Linked DNA regions of Homo sapiens: regions 1, 3 and 4 are each linked to region 2. The links are contacts of gene promoters, found by promoter capture Hi-C in blood cells and fetal thymus (Javierre and others, 2016). All regions are on one chromosome and are shown on one strand. The core of a region is centred on a gene start or on the middle of the fragment in contact, and the rest is flanking DNA. Distances in the headings are between cores, read along the strand shown. Region 1 has its middle 17 kb from the start of GJA8. Region 2 holds the start of BCL9 (BCL9 transcription coactivator). Region 3 overlaps LOC105371229 (a long non-coding RNA gene). Region 4 overlaps CHD1L (chromodomain helicase DNA binding protein 1 like).

Region 1 (4,797 bases), core at 2,013-4,512, 340 kb before region 2:
CAGTTGCATTTAAAAATAAAAATTAATCAAAGTAGCTTTTGGCTCTGCCTGACAGGACAAGTCATAGACAGTGTATTTAATGTGTCATTAGACGGTGTTGGCAGCCTTCGTCACAGCTGCAGTGAATCTGGGGTAACACCAGGAATACAGCACCTCTCTGATTATTTATTTTTAGAGTCTCCAACAAGAAAATTTTAAGAAAAGAAAAAAGAAATCATTGTGGGTAGGAATCAGGAGAGAGTAGTCAGGAAAAATCTGAAATTTTCCTAAAATTTGAAAAATATATATTATGAATTCTAGGTCCTGGGCCATTTAAGCCAGTCTCTAAATCATATGGTTATCTTATAGGAGGAGAATCTTGGACAATAAAAAGATCAGAATGAGGGTGATGTGCTATAAATCTTCCTAAAAAAGCAAGAAGAATTAATTTGGAGAAACAACCCATTAGGGTTGACAACTGTTTAAGTAAAACTGATGACATGAAACTGGAAAGAAAATAGTCCGCTAACTTCTTAAATGGGAAGATGATTCATTAGCAGTGAGGGTTAGGGGTGTCTGTAGTCCTTTTCTGATTATCTATGAAGTAGTAACCTGGATTAGCCAAAAAGAGATTTGCTTTTGACTCTGAAAAATGTCATGATATTTGTTTTGGCAGTAGATAAATTTTTGAACTAGACCTGTTAGCTCAATTGTAAATATTTCATTAGAGAGTGATGGGCATATGAATGCTACAGCTTCTTTTCATTCAACAAATATTTATTGAGTACCTACTACGTGCCAGGCACTGGGCTAGGAGCTGGAAATACAATGCTGAACTAGTTAGACATGGTCCTTGTCCTCCTGGAGATAGACACTGAAGAAATAATACACGTGAGCAATCATTATCATCTAATTAATAATCATCACAATGGGCCAGGCGTGGTGGCTCATGCCTGTAATCCCAGCACTTTGGGAGGCTGAGGTGGGCAGATCACCTGAGGTCAGGAGTTCAAGACCACCTTGGCCGACATGGTGAAACCCCTTCTCTACAAAATACAAAAATTAGCCAGGCATGACGGCCAGTGAATGTAATCCCAGCTACGTGGGAGGCTGAGGCAGGAGAATCACTTGAACCCAGGAGGCAGAGGTTGCAGTGAGCCAAGATCGTGCCATTGCACTCCAGCCTGGGCAACAGAGTGAGACTCTGTCTCAAAAAAAAAAAAAAAAAAAAAAGTCATCATCGTCATCACAATGAAGACATATACAGAGTGCTAAATATGGGTATAATGAAGAGTTGGCCTTGCCCAGGAGGTGAGAAATATGAAAGCCCTTTGAAAACTGTGAAGTGCTAACTAAGGCTTTGTCTGGATTCATCTGGATTGTGGTTAGTCTCTGAATGGGCACAAGATTGCTCCTGTGTAATGCCTGGGGTGCTGTTTCTGCCTGAACTTTCTCTCTTGAAGGAGGCCAATTTCTTTCTCAAAATTCTACCTGGTGAGTGGGAAAGGCCCAGGAGTGGGTGGGAATAGGTTGAGAAATGCTTCTATCAGTTGCTGGAGCACAGAGACCAGTTCATATTTATGAGTTCATCATCTATTTTGGTTGGAAATCTCACAAAAAAATAAGAAAGCACAACTTCTTGACCAAAATTATGAGCAGAAAGGTCTGCTACTGTCCATCACTCATACTTTCAGGAATTGACACAATGCATTTCTCATTCACCAGTTCTATGCTAACAGTTAGGCATATGCAGATGTGAACACCAACATTATTACAAAACTTGAAGATCCCTTTTAAAATAGTCATAACTTATTAAATGTACATTATAAGGCTGGCACCTTTATATACATCATTTCACTTCATCATTATTAAAGCCCTATAAAGTAACTCTTTTATTCCTGTTTTACAGATTTGGGAATGCAGTTAAATATATTATTCACTTGCTCAAGGTCATAATGCTAAGAAGTGGTAGAATCAAGATTTATATCCAGGCCCAAATTTGAAGTTTATAACTTGCATTTTTTCCATTACATGGTACGTGTCTTTTGGTTAGAGTTAGAGACAGCAGCTGGACTTCAAGAGTTTGGTAACATTACTTACTTTCTCTTACTAAAGAAATGGGGTTGGGGGGAGGAAAGAGTCTACAACTGAGCTTTAAATTGGGGATTAGTGGAAGCATATTTTATAACATTTTAAGTTCAATGTCTTTTATTGGGTTGGCCTTGAAATGAAAGTCTAGGAAATAAGATGTCTGCTCTGAGATGGGGGTGGAAGATCCTGTACTTTCACATGCCTGTTAAAATTAGAGATGAAATATAATCAGTTGATGGAGGGCTTGGATAAAATAAACTGAGACACATAACTGGCAAATATGAAAGTGCATGAAAGGGACCAAGACCCAGAAGATCGTAGAGAAAAGAGACGCATATCTCATTGCCAAGCTGGAGTTATTTCTGTTTAGAGACACCAAAGTTCTCCCTAAAACTTTTCCCTTAGTCTTGGTAATGTGAAACTCTGGGGGGGTCATTCCTACAAATTCTGCCCCCTTTGTGATCCCCTGTATAATTAGATCCATCCTTTTTAAGGAAGAGGACCTGGCAGATATGTTTCATGGTTTATACGTAATCCAGTTCCTTTCATGCTTCCTGCTGTAAACTTTTGCCTGTACATTGTATTTTTGAGACCCTACTGCAATCATTCCCAGGGTCGGAATGATCACAACCAGCTGACCAGACCAGTTAGCTGCTGTTTGGTTAACTGTTCAAGTAGATTGGAAGAAGAGGCAGTGAAAGAACTGGGCAGTGAGAGCAAGGTAAGGACATTGAGAAGATGCATGCCCAGGGATTTTGGTCTTCCGTCTTCCTTTAACTTGTATTGTCCACATGAGATTGTATTAGTGAGGGTTCTCCAGAGAAACAGAACCAATCTGATATATATATAGGCATATAAGAGATTTGTTATGGGATTTGGCTCACGTGATTATGGAGGCCAAGAAGTCCCACAATATGCCATCTGCAAGCTGGAGAACCAGGAAAGCTTGTGATGCGATTCAGTTCAAGTCTGAAGGCCTGAGAACCAGGGGAATCGATGGTGTAACTCCTGGTTCAAAGCTGAGAGCTGGTGGGATGGGGAGTTGGTGGGGAAGGCACTGGAGTAAATCCTGAAGTCTGTAGGCCTGCGAACTAGGAGCTCCAATTTCTGAGAGCAGGAGAAGATGGGTATCCCAGCTCAAGAAGAGAGAGAGAATTTACCCTTTCTCCTGCTTTTTGTTCTATTTGGGCCTTTAATAGATTAGAAGATGCTCACCCATACTGGGGGAAATGAATCTTCTTTACTCAGCATATTGATTTAAATTATAATCTTTTGCTACAACATCCTAATAGACACACCTGAAAATAATGTTTTATCAGTTAAATGGGCATCCCTTAGCACAATCAAGTTGACATATAAAATTAACCATTACAGAGATCAATCTTGGATAGGCTTCTCCTCTGGGTCCTCTCTAGCTGCCTTGTAAAATGCTAAGCTTCCAACTGTATGATTTTTCTTGTTATCACTTCTTCTATTCTTGGAAATTTAAAAAGCACTGGTCTCAGAGGGATTGTTCTCCCCTGCCCCACACCATGTTAGTTTTAAGTTTAATGATTTTCATAGTGTCCTTAAACTAACTGGTCTATTTTTCTATTGGCATAGTCAAATGGAGTTCACGTTTATACCTGCTTAAGAGTTAATTAGTTTAGTTTAAGAATCGACTTTATGTGGTTCTAGCTTTAACTCAAGAATGACTGAAATAATAACCACAATAACAGTAACACTGAATAGAATCAATGAAAGAAAATCATACTGCAGGAGGGGATGGTGGTTGTTTCATTTGTATTATTTGTTTTAACACATTCATTTGTTGCTGCCACAAAGATATAAAACCCATCATTCTTGACCTGTTCAACACTCAAACGTGTTTACAATGAAGATGATCACTATGGTCTCTTGAAAAACATGAAAAAAGAAAAACAGTTAATGATCCTCTTGTTTGGTTGGGATGGTACCATTTGGTCCATACCTCTATTATGGACTTTATTAAATTGCATGGTAGTTATTGGTTAACCTGGCTGGCTTCTCCAATAAAATGCAAGTTCCTTGAGGGCATATTAATTAAAATTCATATTAATAAAATTTTGCTGTTCTTTGATTAAATATTATCCAAAAGTCATAATAAATAAAGAATGAGGGGTCAAATTAATTAGGTTAATAAAATAACTGGGGCTGGCCAGCACAGCTAGCCAGCAGGGAACTCCCATCTAAATTCATTACCACCTGGCTATGTTTTGGCAACTCCTGATAGTAGTTGTCTGCTCTAGCCTAAATATTGATGGGGATGCTTCTGGGTCCTGTTGTTGGGATTTCCAGGGAAAGAGCAGTGATTCCAAACATCTCCTGGTTAGTGGTACCCACTTGGCCCAATTCAAGTAGATAGGTCCAGAAAAACATTAGGGATGCTGGGACTTACCCTCCACTTCGCTGCTTCCAAAGACAAATTTACCACCATTTCCCCTATTTTTTCCATCCTGCCCCTCTTCTTCTTTCCACATTTTCTCTTTTTCCTCAAATAATAAGAAAGCTGTCTGCTAATTTGAGAATAGTGGCTGAATGGAAGAAGGAAGCCAATATCAGGGTCTTATATTCTAGTGCATTGTCATTGCAGGAGTTTTACTCTGTTAGATACTCAAAAAGTATTTGTTGAATTAATGAATAAATACAATTTGTCTCAAGCAATGACCTGAACTTCTTAAAGAGTCAGACAACAAAATGTATAAATAA
Region 2 (4,711 bases), core at 1,394-3,893:
AACAAGACTGTAAGTTCCCTGAGGGCAGGGGTATATCTGCCTTTCTCTTCCTATATCCTCAGTGCCCAGTATTTGCCTGCTGCAGAGTAAAGAGCCCCAAAATATAAGTTGAATGAACAAATGAATACATGAATGAATTTATGCAAATTCATGTTGTGGACCCATGTTTGCATATTTGTACCATTTGATGACATGAGCAGGGCAGAGTGTGCTGCTGTAATCCAGCACAGCAAGCAGAACTACAAAAGGTGCCTCTCTTTGGTTGGCCAAGTGCTGGAGTTTGTAAAATCAAATGTGGGTGTGAGGTAAGGGTACCCGGCATGAAGACCCTTGGGGTACTCTGAACCCCAGGGTGTGGTCTAGATGTTACCACAGCTTTGTTGCACCCGCCTCAGATCAGTGCTTATCTCTCTTGGACCTTAACATCCTCATCTATAACATGATGGAATAACACTTCTTTTTCCTTGCAGTTCTTAAATTCTAACATTTTAGGAAGATATCTGGACCCTGAAATCTTGTCAGGAACAACCATGGTAAGATCTCTGACTATAAAGTAGAAAACAACTAAGTTTTCAGATATATATATGCATAAAATACAGCTTTATTTTAATAAAACCTTAAATGTAGGGGGACCTTCTTGCCAGATCCAGGCCAACTAATGGCTTTCCTTCAGCTTTTCCCATACTCAGAAGTCAGGTTTCCAGGCCTCTGTGAAAAGCACATAAATATTCTCAGCCAGGGCTGGCCCTTTGCTTCAATCTCCAGCTATCACAGGGAGTCAGTCTGATAAACATTTGCAGTTAGAATGGAAGGAGGCACAGCCTCCTAGACTTTTACAGATTTTTTTGGACAAGTAGCAGAGTCACAGAAAACCTAGAATTAGGTAAGAAAGCAGAACTCCTCCAGAGAATTCAGAGAGAGCTACAACTGAGAGCCTTTAAACAATCAATGTGTAGGAACAGAAGAAAGGAAATCCACAATTCAAGAAAATAAGCAGACATTTTTTTTCCTCAAAAAAAATTGTTAAGATGAATGTTAGGCACTGATTTTAGCCCTCTGTTCCATCCCTCAAGATGTCACTTGAAAAAGCAAAAGGTTTTATCCACAAAACCACCGGCGAGTAAACAGCCTTCACATTCTTAGCCTCGTACACACACAGTAAGATATTTACTCTCTGATAAACAGCAATTGTAAATAAATCTCATTTAATCTCTAAAAGCCACAATAAAAATCTTTAACCTCCAAGGTAGAGTTTACAGATGCGTCTGCATGCCCTGCCAGCCCCAGAAAACACAAGGTCTTGAATAAACTACTATACCAGGAGGCACATTTTCTCGCTCAAGCATCTTACATTGACCTTCTTTAAAACAAAAATACGTACAAGGAGGAGGAAAGGGGAAAACCCAACCCCTCCCACCCCATTCTCTGTACAAATCGGCCAATAAATCTAACGAAAAGACACAAGAGAAAAAGGACAGAAGCCAACAGGTGGAACAAGGCTTTTTGTTTCCTTAGAAATGCTCAGACACTTGATCTGTGCTCCTCAGTCTATTTGTCTCAGGGTGTCTTTAATGATGTTTTTATTACCCTGATGATGATGATCAAGAATAATGATAACACTTCTACTCTGTGATTCCACAGCATCTCTAGCTGACGATTTCTCCACGCGTTTCAGACACAGTGATCTGTTCTGTTTCGCTCAATCCCAGGGAGGCATACAGCATCCCTGATCAGCAACCTTGATTTTACAGATGGGGAAATTGAGGCACGGGGCACCCCACAACTCAACAGTCTCTACGACCAGAGGAATCCCTGAGACTGGAAAAGTTTCTGGATCGTCTTGTGGCAGAGTTCTCTTGCTCTCCCTTCTTGCCTGCCATGCCGCTCCTCCTCGGAGAGTCTGGGCTGGGGTGGTAAGGATCGGGGTGCCTCCCCTTCACAGCGAGGCACGCCAGGGCAGTGTGTGGGAAGTCCACACGCACACACAGACCCACGGGCACACTGGCACACACAAAGCTCGATGCAATCTCTGCAGTCACTCGGCGGAGCCCTGGCCGGCCCTTGCTCAGCCTGAGAATGCACAGCTCGGAGCCTGCAAGGCCTCCCTGGGCTCTGGGCTGGGGTTTCCCTGAACCAAGGCTCTGCCCTTCTCTCCCTCTTTTCCAGGCTTCCCTCTCTCGCGCTCCCTCTCTCTCTCTCTTTTCCCTCCCACCCTCACACCCTCCTCCCAGCCCTCTCCATCCACCCCTTCTCCCCCACCAACCCAGAGGCACAGATCGTGTTACTGGGGTTCCCTCGAAAGAGGGGCCATCCCCAGTCCTGGATGCCTTGAAAGACTTCCAGGGGCAACGCAGGAGCTCCAATCGCAGGACCCCAGCGCTCCTCCAGAGCAGCGCAGGAATGAGACCCCCACTTCCAGGCACAGGCGAACAAGCCTGCCACCGAAGAAGGAATTGTTAGGGCTCTTACCTTTTTTATGAGGAGAAATTCTGGAGAATCATTTCAGAAACTGAGGGGGGAAAGTGAATGAAGACAAAAAAGACCCTTTTCCCGCAATCCCTGGCCTCCTGGTATCAAGACACCAGGACAACATCAAAGCAACTTAGGGGGAACACTTTAGGGGCCTATTGTCTGCTCTGGTCTGATCTGTTTTTCTTCTGACTCCCCCTCTTGCTGCGGTGACACTTGGTACGGCCCAGGCATTCATGCCAAGTAGCTTTCACACATGGAAGCTTGTCTCAAGCAATTGCTGACAAGCCACAAACAAGACATTCTCCCTCCCTTCTCTGCGCCCCCCCACTCCTCCCCCCTCCACCTTTTCCTCCTCCCCTCTTGTCTCCCCTCCTCCTTTCTTCTGAATGCAAACTAAAACTCTCCAGTGACAGGCAGGCTCGCAGGCTTGGCCTAGCTGCGCACGCAGGCACACACACACACACACACACACACACACACACACACACACACACTCTCTCTCTCTCTCTCTCTCTCTCTCTCTCTCTCTCTCTCTCTCTCTCTCTCTCTCTCCTCTCTCTCTCTCTCTCTCTTCTCTCTCTCTCTCTTCTCTCTCTCTCTCAAGCAGCTCAGCTAGTTGCTGCTGCACTGGTGGAGTTAAGAGACAGGAAAAAGCCCAGGCTGAGTTGGGGGCAGGGAGAAAAAGAGAGGGAGAGCGAGAGCAGAGAGCCGCCTCCTGTGTCCTAGTAAAATGGCAGAAGAGAGGTGAGTCCTTTGGAAGAAAAGCAGTGGCCACACACGTGTGCACACATACACAGACTCAGGCCATCTCAGCGCCAGGAAAAGTGAAATAAATGACCCGACAAAGGAAAAAGCAAAGTCCCATTAGCTGGAGATTGGGGGAGTAGGGAGATAAGAGGGTGAGTGGCCCCAGGACTGGGGTTTCTGTTGAGTGGTTAGGTGATTTTTCTTCTTTACAATAGAGAAAAATTTGTTTCCTAAGGATCTAGCCTTCTTTCACTGCATAATTGAGCATGGACTTGAGCTACTAGTTAAAATAAAATCATGAAATGTGTAAATGTGTGAGTAAACTTAACTGTAGGTTCAACTTGTACCCAAGATATTTTTAAAGTGAAGCTTTTTTTATTTTTTTTTATTTTTTATTTTAGCAGAAACCCTAGAGAGCAGTAGCAAGGAGAGTAGTAACAAGTAGTGTAAACTAGGAGAGCTGTGAAGTGTGATGCTAAAGTTACTGATTGCCAGGCTGCTGGAATTTATGGAGGGTGGGCCTGAGAGTTGGAGGAGGGGAGGGTGAGTGTGCTGTTTTCTAGGAATAAGAGGGGAATGAGGTAGGATAATGAATATGGCAAGAAACAAGCAGGAATTTGATTGGTGTGGAGGGAGGAGGTGGGGGCTGTAAAGGAGTGGAGAGAGAGAGAGAGAGAGAGAGAGAGAGAGAGAAACAACACTGCATTAAAAAAAGAAGAAAAATGGAAGCCCAGAAAGATTGAAACATGCAGAGTAAATGAGATGGTAAAAGAAGGCATAAAATGTGAGCAAAAAGGAGCACAAAGGATGTGCAAATTTGCAGATGGCATGAAATCAGGAGGGCCAATTGAGATCAGGAAGAAGAATGACAGGATGATTATATGACATTCATATTTTTAGATACTGTGGACTCACAGACCTAACAAGGTCTCCTCTGCCTAGGCCAGAAGAGTTATCCCTATGCAACAGGATCTGAATGGAAGCTTAGCTCCTAACTGCTGCTGAATCAGTTCTGTACTTTTTCATGAAGATTGTTTAGACTCTATTCCTCAGAATCTTCCTTTACAAAATGGAAATTATGAGAACACACATCACTCATTCCTTCATAGGTATGCAGTAAAGAATAAATTATGACTTCTTTCATACTTAACACCAGCTAAATGAGGTGTCACTACCTAAAACTCACCACATCAAAGACACAGACTTGTTCCTGTTATTTTCCCCCTTAATTTGCTCCTCCATTATCCCTGATCCCTGAACTGTCTGTCCCGACTCCCATTAATGATGATGATGTGGTAATATAATAATAATAATAATAACCTTTTTTTAAGTATTTACTTGATTCTTAGCATTTTCCCACTCATTTGTATCATGAAGTAATTTTTGTTATGATCATTTCCATTTACAGATGATAGAAAAACGAGGCACAGAGAGGTTAAGCAACTTGTCTGAGGTCACACAGCAAGGCAGAGGTAGAGCTGAAATCCAACTG
Region 3 (4,671 bases), core at 1,265-3,764, 380 kb before region 2:
TGTTGGATTGAACTCTGTGATACCAAGCAGTCAAAACTACCTGTCAGATGTCCAATCCCTGATCCAGAATTTCAAGGAGCTGTGGAGGCAGCTGTACAATGGGAGTGTCATAAACCAGAGAACTTTGTGTCCAGGCTATGTCTATTAGGTAAGCAGGTAGATTCCCACATAACAGCACCTAACTGACATTCAAGAGTGTGTAGAGTGCAGAGTGCTGAAAGAGACTATCAAGGCAAGCAGTTTACCTTGGTGGCTTACTGGGGTGCACAGTGGGGATCAGAATATCAGTAACGAGGAATAGCAGAGAAAGGTGTGCAATACCTGCTGGCCTAAGGCCTATGCAAAGCTTTGGGTGACACTATTCAGAATTCTCCCTACTGTACCACTTGTGTCCAGGTAAAGGACAGGCCTAGGTGATTCAAGCGACTGCTTTATCCCCTGATTTTGATTGAGGAATGTCTTTAGAAACCTTCGCACAGCATTTAGTATCCAATTGACTCTCCTTTCAAAGCAAGTCTCTTCTGCTGGTGGTGGACTCTGACACTAAAATGGCTTGTCCTCCCATCTCTACCGCTGGTAATATTCTCCCGATCCACTCTAGCTGCTGCCATCCTCTTAGAATAGTGGGATCTTTTGGTTCTGCCTCCATGGACAGTCACACCATCTGGGCTCTGAGTCCCCAGTTTGTGCTTTTTCCAAGGGAGCTTTTCAAAATATGTCATGTTCATAACTAGTAGCCATTGTTTGCCACTCATCCAGAGATTGGCAGCCAGTCCCATAGATGTGCTACAAAGAGTCGACTGACAAGATGATCAGTCTGTGTCCTTTGGATGAGTGTTTGCTCACACCACTTTACTGTCCTTTGTCATAGCAACTGCAATGTTCATACCTACGGTACTCTCACACTTCCCAGCACCATCCACATACTGACAGCTAACTACTTCATCCCCTTCCTCCAAATTAATGCAAAGGACTGGGCCCAGGAGTTGACACTAACACTAGATCCCTGGGAGACACCCTAGTACCTCTTCTCCATGCACATACATAGCACCTGCTCATGCCAGTGGCTGGATGATCTCTGTTAGGGATTTTCTCTTGAAAATTTTTACTTACTGTGACATAGTTGTAGATTCACATGCAGTTGTAAGTCTGGGATCTTTTGAGACATATGATATCACCAATTCTGTGGCATCCTACTCCCGCTGTCTCCCTTCATGGATAGACATCCTATCTTGTAGTTTTGCCTACTGTGCCAGGTTCACTGAGTCTCTGAACTCCCCTGTTTGCCCCACTAAGTCACCAGTGTAAGCTGGACAGGAAACCCCAAGTATTCAGAGGAAAAGTGTTTATTTCCCAATGGTCCCATGGACAGTATCTATACTTGATACCTAGAAAATGTATAGGTGCAGTTTTCTCAAAGTGTGGTTCTCTAACGACTTGGGGGGCTTATTTAAAATGTAGATTCATAAGCCCTAATGTAGACCAGTGGACTTGGGATTTCTGAAAGTGACTCTGAGGAGGAATCTGGGAGTCATAATATATAAAAATTATATACATTTATCATGCACAAAATGATGTCTTGAAATATGTATACATTGTGGAATGGCTAAATCAAGGTAATTAGCATATGTATTACTTCAGATACTTATTTTTTGTGGTGAGAATACTTAAAATCTACTCTCTTAGAGATTTTCAAAAATGGATACATTGTTATTAACTATAGTCACCATATTGTACAATAGATCTCTTGAACTTACTCTTGTTATCTAACTGAAATTTCCTTTGACCAACATCTCCCCTACCCCACCCAACTATCCCCCCCCCCAGCCCCTGGTAATCTCCACTCTACTCTCTGCTTTTGTGCATTCAATTTTTTTTTTAGAAGTAATCTGCATTTTTAACAGCTTCCCAGGAGATTCTTATGCACACTGACTGGGGACTGGTTGTGAGACTCTGCTCCCCACCTCAAAACTTTCCTAGAGTGAGTCAGCGCCTTCACACTAGGAAAATGCCAGTTCTGATTTGCCTAGAGAAAGGGGACTAAGGGCCAGAGTGGTGCTAGCTTTGCTCTTTCCTTTTTTCCACTCCCACCCCCCTTTCTCTAGATATGCTCACTCCACAGCCTCAGGAAGCCTAAAAATCTTTTCCAACCACTTGTGCTTTGGCTCAAGAATTCCCCTTCATCTTCCTTGAGTCTACTTTGAACCTCTTGCCTAGCTGATTCTCACTTTGCCAGACCTTCTTGGAGGTGCATTCCGGTCCTTTCCTCTTATACAATCTCATTTTGGATATATTGACCTTGGTGCTGACCTGGTGTGCACTGATTGGTTCATATGAGTTAGAGTTAACTCTGTATCAAGTGCTTGGTTGTTCTTGAGGCCGTGTTCCTGAGGAATAAAGAAGATTAAATAGTTGTGTGGTTTTATGCAAGTTACTAAACTCTCTGTACTTCAGTTTCCTCATCTAAAAAATAGAGATAGTAATAGTACCTTATCTCATAAGGCTATTATGAAGATTAATATACATAAAGCCCTCAGGAAAATAAGCACTTTATAGTAAGTATGCAATAATTTTTACCCATTATTATTATTATGAGTTTACGTTCAGTTTTCCTTCATTGTTAATTAGTTTCAATGTATATTTATTTATTAATATTTATAAATGTATGTTTAAAAGTTTTGGTTGTCAGTTATTCAAATTATACTGAAAAGATTGATGATTGTAGAGCTCCCAAATTTGGAAAGATTCAGCGGCATTATTTGAAATATATAACACCAACTTTTTCCATTTATTAAAACTAATTTTGGGATTCTCTGTTAATATAATTATCATGCAGAATGAATTTGATCCATATATTTTGTGAACAAAGGGGAAGAATGTGTAGAGATTAAATTTTAAATGGAATATATTAGTTGAAGTTCAAAGTAAAGGATGTTCATATTCTTAATGTATGAACTGTTCCAAACTTCTGGTCCCCTGCTGTCTGTGCTCAGGCAGAGCAGAAAGCTCTCCCTACTGCCCCACCACTTCTTGCTCCAGGACTAACTTCTTTTTGGGATAACTACCAGCAGGGACATTTGCTTATTTTAAAGAAGTGCCCACCTTTACCACTGGATTGAGATTTGCCACCATGACATTAAGACAGTTGCAAAGGAGTACAACACTGGCATATTTCCAAAGTCTGGGATATTCATTCTTATTCTTGGTTAACGTGATGCATACCCACACCAATGCACATATACCTTTTGATTTTCCCAAAACTGGATCACAAGGAGTGCTATGGACTCCTAGTGATCCAATATTGAAAAAATGGATCCTGTTTGTGTACCCCCAAAATGCATATGTTGAAGCCCTGGTTTCCGATGTGATAGTATTTGGAGGAGGGGCCTTTGGGAGCTGATTAGGTTTAGATGAGGTAATGAGAGTGAAGCCCCATGATGGGATTTGTGCCCTTCCAAGGAGATGAAGGACCAGCACACTCTCTTTCTGACAGGTGAGTATATGGTGAGAAGGCAGCTGTCTGTGAACCAGAAGGAGGGCCCTCACCAAGAAGTGACCATGCTGGCACCCTGATCTTGGACTTCTGGCATCTGGAACTGTAAGAAATAAATGTTTGTTAAATATATACACCTACTATGCACCCATAAAACTTAAGAATAAAAAATTTTTTAAAGTTTGTTGTTGAAGCCACCCAATGTATGGTATCTTGTTATAGTAGCTTGAACTAAGACAATGAGCATACTATGTTGTTACATAGTTTTCATTATATTTCATTTTAGAAATATATTATGGGGCTGGGCATGGTGGCTCACGCCCGTAGTCCCAGCACTTTGGGAGGCCGAGGTGGGTGGATCACTTCAGGTCAGGAGTTTGAGACCAGCCTGGCCAACATGGTGAAACCCCATCTCTACTAAAAATACAAAAATTAGCTGGGCATGGTGGCACATGCCTGTAATCCCACCTACTTGGGAGGCTGAGGCAGAAGAATTGCTTGAACCTGGGAGGCGGAGGTTGCAGTGAGCCGAGATTGTGCCACTGCACTCCAGGCTGGGTGACAGAGCAAGACTTTGTCTAAAAAACAAAAAACAAACAAACAAACAAAAAACAACAAAAAAAAGAAATATATTATAGGACAGGCATGGTGGCTAAAACTTGTAATCCCAGCACTTTGGGAGGCCGAAGTGAGAGGATTACTTGAGTCCAGGAGTTTGAGACCAACCTGGATAACATTGGGAGACCCTGTCTCTATTAAAAAAAAAAAAAAATTAGCCAGGCATGGTGGTGCACACCTGTAATCCCAGATACTCTGGAGGCTGAAGTGTGGGGATTGCTTGAGCCTATGAGGTTGAGGCTGTAATAATCTGTGATTGCACCACTGCATTCCAGCCTGGGTGTCTCAAAAAAAATGTATATTATGAATATTTTCTTTTGCCAAAGACTTTATAGCATTTTTATTGACTCAGTAACATTCCATCATATGGTTATCTCATGAGTAAGTTAACCAATCTACCTTTTGGATTATTTTTTTGGTGGTGTTTACTATAATAAAATAATATGATGGTGAAGAATTTGGCCCACAAGAAACACTTATTCAAGCCTCCAATTTTCCCTGGGCAAGGGAAGGTCACTGTGTCTATGTTCCAGCAAATTCTGAGGACACACATCAAGGTC
Region 4 (4,297 bases), core at 6-2,505, 280 kb after region 2:
CCAGCTAATTTTTTGAATTTTTTAGTAGAGACGGGGTTTCACCGTATTAGCCAGGATGGTCTCGATCTCCTGACCTCGTGATCCACCCATCTCAGCCTCCCAAAGTGCTGGGATTACAGGCGTGAGCCACTGCGCCCGGCTGGTTGCGTCCAACTTTTATAAACTGAAAACAATATTAGGGGGAAATAAAAAACGGCAGTATCCCCCTCCCCATCTCAGCCCAATAAATACATGTATTTTCTTTCCAACTAGTTATCTGCAACCCAAGCTTCATCTAAAAAGGAATGCTTAGATGACCCAGAACCATTTCTTCACTTAATCCCTGAGCCTTAGTTTCCTTATGAATAACAAGAAAAGGCTCTGGGGCCAGCAACAGAACTTAGCTTTCCCACTCCAAATCCAGGTTCTTTTACTATGCCTGCTTCTCTCCTCCCGTTTTAAATTAGTAAACTGGCACAGTAGTTTATGAAGCCATCTTTCATAAGGTTAGATGCCAGGATATGACAACTGCTATGGATTGAATGTGTTTCCTTCAAAATTCAGGTGTTGTCAATGTAATATTATTAAGAGGTAGCGCCTTTAAGAGGTGGTTAGTTCATAAGAACTTTTCCCTCGTGAATAAGATTAAGGCCTTTATATATAAAAAAAAAAAAGTGTCATGCAGCATTTGGATAGCTTGCTCTTCTGCTCCCTCTTGCCCGTCCACCTTCTGTCATGTGAGGATGCAGTTAAGAAGGCTCTTGCCAAATGCTGGCACCTTGATCTTGGACTTCCCAGCCTCTAGAACGGTGATAAATAAATTTCTGCTCATATGAATTACCCAGTCTGTGAAAAACAGACCAAGACAAGCTCTCAGAAGGAGATACTGTTAAAAGTCCCTACAAAGAAAGCAAAGGACACCAGGGATAGAGGGGGCCCCACCAGGGGACAGCGACCTTTGAGACTGGGCTAATAATACACAGTGATCGTATCTACATTAAGACTCTAAAAACTACAACTTTCAGACCAGTAAAAATAGAATTCATATCTAAGACTTTCCTCCAAGTGACCTCTAAATTTATTAATTGGTTTATTATAGGACAAGGACCAAACTTCAATTATCATCACAGAAATTAACATATGTGGTCTCATCAATGAACAAATCTTTACCAGGTCAATAAAAAGGGTATTTCACATCGCACTGACTCCTCGGAAAAAAGGGCCCATCTAGGGTACAATGGTATTTCTCATCTACTTTGCCAGAATGATGCAAGAGATCCAGAGAAAGGAATGAAAGCAAGTGTATTATGCTCAAAAGTAGGACAAAGACAAGACAAACTGGAGGTAATATTCAATAGCATGTAATTGGTCTCTTCATGAACCCAGGTGAACTATCAAATTTTTTCAACAGGTAAATTGGGGGGAAGGGTACAACATGTCTGATATATCTACTATTGCACAAAGAAGAATTATAATAAGATTTTTTAAGAGAAATTGTTCCTTTGAAGATAATCAAAAGAGAGTTGAAACATCTGAAATAAAATGCATTCTATTGGGGTAGGGTTCTTATTCACCAGATATTAGTAAACCTATCTCCAATATAAAAGAAAGAAGAAGTTAGGCCATATTTAGTACTTCTTCTGTCTTCTATAAAATGTTCATTTAGCCCTGCAGAAATCGAACTCGAAAAAAGGTTTCAATTTAATTGACTCTATATAGGCCTAAACTAGTATTTTTTAAAGGGAGTTACGAAGAAAAGATGAATATGTGGAGCACATAGGATTTTTAGGGCAGTGAAACTACTCTGTATGATACTATAACAGTAGATATCATGGTATTGTACATTTGTCCAAACCTACAGAATGCACACCACCAAGAGTGAACCCGAATGTAAACTATGGACTTTGAGTGATAGCGATGTATCAATGTAGGTTCATCAGTTGCAACAACTGTGCCACTCTGGTGGGGTATGTTGATAATGGGTGAAGCTGTACAAGTGTGGGGACAGGGGACAGCTGTACATGTGTGGGGACATATGCATGGGAAACATCTGTAGTTTCTGTTCAATTTTGTTGTGAATCTAAAATTACTCTAAAATATAATGTATATTTAAAAAGAAGGGGTTATATAAAAACTAAGGCTACACTGTAAGTTTACCTCTGACAAGGTCTTATGCAGCAGGGAGCTTTGGTTTTTCAACCTGTGAGCTTCATCCACAACAAGAACACTCCAAGGGAATCTGTGAGAGAAAACCCAAGCTTTCAGTTTTGTGTAATTTAAACACATATTTCACAATCAAAAGTCTTACTACAAAACTGTGACTGTTATTAAAAAGACTTAACAGTAAGCCCCTTCTATTACAAATGCCACCAAATTACCTTCCTGAGAGGCTACATGTGCATAATACAATATCTGGATAAGGTAGTAAAACCAAGGGATTTTTTTTTTTAACAAAATGGGAAAGACCTATGCAGAAAGGAAGAAGCCAGAGACAGAAAGGAAAAGGAAACATTTATGATCTCCTACTTTGTGCCAGACACTAACCTCAGGGCTTTATGTGTTATTTAGTCTAAAAGAGTATAGCAAGCAGACAATTGTGCTCATTTTACTAATAAAGACACTAAAGCTCAGAAAGGTTAGGTGACTTGGTGAAGGTCATAAAGACAGAGCTGATGTTCAAACAGAAGAAAAAAATCAAGATAGACAGTGGTGTTGTAGGAACTTAAGAAGTGTGACTTTAAAATGGGTAAGTGGTGAGCAGAGTCAAATCTCACAGAGATGTCCAGGAAGATATATCCACTGAATTTGTTGACATGGAAGTCATTAGTGGCTGTTGCCAGAGCACATTTTGTAGCATACTGTGTCACATCAGCAATTTCTCAAGAAGTTTCAGTCATAAAAGCAAATACTTTGACAGATACTACTGAGAAGCTATTTAAGAAAAATTCAAAATACAGAAAAAGATATATGTGGGAATGTTTCAAGTTGTATTATTTAAAACAGCAAAAAATGGAAAATAACCTAAATGTCCAATAATAGGTAGTAAAATATTACATGGCATTTTAAATAATAAATATGATTATGTTGCAATTTAAAAGGCCTATAGAATAATAAAAAAGATATAAATATCATGTATCCTCTTTTACAAATGTGAAAGCCATGCAAAAGATAATAAAGTGAAAATTATAAGATGTTTAACTTTTTATTTTGATTATAAACATTCTGGAATCCCATTACATTATTTTCATATTTAAAAAACTAAATGTATATACAGGTAAAACAGAACACTGGAAAAATAGTAGGTATGGAAAGGAAAATTCCTCCAAAATTAGAGAAAGATCTTGAGCAGAGGTTCACCTTACAAGGAGGAGGCCCTCTTCCTGAGGCTACAGAGAAACTCCAGAGGACAGGCAGAGGAACAGAGGTCCCTATGACATTACCATTCACCTACTGAGAGAAGCGAGTAGAGGGAGGACTGAGGGTCCAAAGAGAGTGCAGGAAGTCGAAGGAGAAGGTTGGGTGGCATGAGCAGAGGATGCATTTAAGGATGACAAGAAACAAAGGTCCAGTTGAAGTTGCACAGTGGTCATGAGATAAGGTATGGAAGTTTCTCTAGGATGGTGCCTGGCTCTGTCTGAATTAGCTTTCAAAACAGATTAGGTCCTATTCCCTTGTGAAGAACTAGACATTTAGGTGTCCAAAAAATGCTTGTTCAGTGAAACAGGCTACAGAGTGGTGGATTTTGGCTCATGAAAGGAAGTGGGTCAAATCACTTATCAAAGGATACTCTAAATGATGTCCCCTGAAGAGGAAAAGATGGGGGAAATCCAGCACTGAATGGAAAGTTGGATGAGGTAACTTCTAATCCTCTTGATCCAAAGAGTTTTACAAGTCTATTGTCCAAAACATTTCAAATTTTTCATATTTGTAACATGCACAGCCTTAACTCTCCATAATAAATCTCTTTAGGGCAGAGATGATATTACACTTCCCTGCTATTCTCAGAATGTACAATACAGCAATAAGCAATATAACCTTCCAAATATATTGAAAGAATGTATCTATGTTGTTGGGATTCATACTACAGGACAGCATTATAAATGTCCCTCTGTTACTTAGGTTTTTAAATCTACCTGAAAATGCACTGAAAACCGATTATCTGAAATAGAAAGATTCTATTTCTGCTGAATAATGTAAAACTCCAGTACAACTAGCTATTTTGAGAAGTTCTCTTAAAAAGAGGCTCCACAGCACCAAATGCTGGGTTTAAATGTCTGCTCTGCTATTTATCATCAGCAATGTAACCTTGGATGGGTTA

Evidence for each region. Contacts are between HindIII fragments. The CHiCAGO score rates a contact against its expected background, and 5 or more counts as called.
Region 1: a fragment that was not itself captured here is called in contact with the fragment with the promoter of BCL9 in region 2 in 6 of 17 cell types (M2 macrophages, naive B cells, M1 macrophages and 3 more); the score reaches 7.2 in M2 macrophages.
Region 3: a contact is called between a fragment that was not itself captured here and the fragment with the promoter of BCL9 in region 2, in 1 of 17 cell types (fetal thymus). The highest score is 6.0, in fetal thymus.
Region 4: a fragment that was not itself captured here is called in contact with the fragment with the promoter of BCL9 in region 2 in 2 of 17 cell types (megakaryocytes and fetal thymus); the score reaches 7.2 in megakaryocytes.

Annotation. Positions count from the first base shown.
Region 1 is chr1:147,883,344-147,888,140 of GRCh38, reverse strand. No RefSeq gene overlaps it. Among named protein-coding and RNA genes, the nearest start is that of GJA8, 17 kb to the left of the region's middle. The HindIII fragment of the contact is 490 bases long and covers 3,018-3,507 here.
Region 2 is chr1:147,539,433-147,544,143 of GRCh38, reverse strand. BCL9 (BCL9 transcription coactivator) reads right to left here and starts at 2,643. Exons shown (of 10, transcript NM_004326.4): 1 at 2,470-2,643. RefSeq lists enhancers at 2,598-2,657, 2,218-2,972, 2,691-2,985. The HindIII fragment of the contact is 5,169 bases long and covers 1-2,734 here.
Region 3 is chr1:147,922,349-147,927,019 of GRCh38, reverse strand. It overlaps LOC105371229 (a long non-coding RNA gene), which reads left to right. Exons shown (of 3, transcript XR_922074.4): 1 at 1-148; 2 at 3,494-3,598. Among named protein-coding and RNA genes, the nearest start is that of GPR89B, 3.7 kb to the left of the region's middle. The HindIII fragment of the contact is 4,332 bases long and covers 349-4,671 here.
Region 4 is chr1:147,257,758-147,262,054 of GRCh38, reverse strand. CHD1L (chromodomain helicase DNA binding protein 1 like) reads right to left here. Exons shown (of 23, transcript NM_004284.6): 6 at 2,137-2,218. Among named protein-coding and RNA genes, the nearest start is that of CHD1L, 17 kb to the right of the region's middle. The HindIII fragment of the contact is 1,969 bases long and covers 271-2,239 here.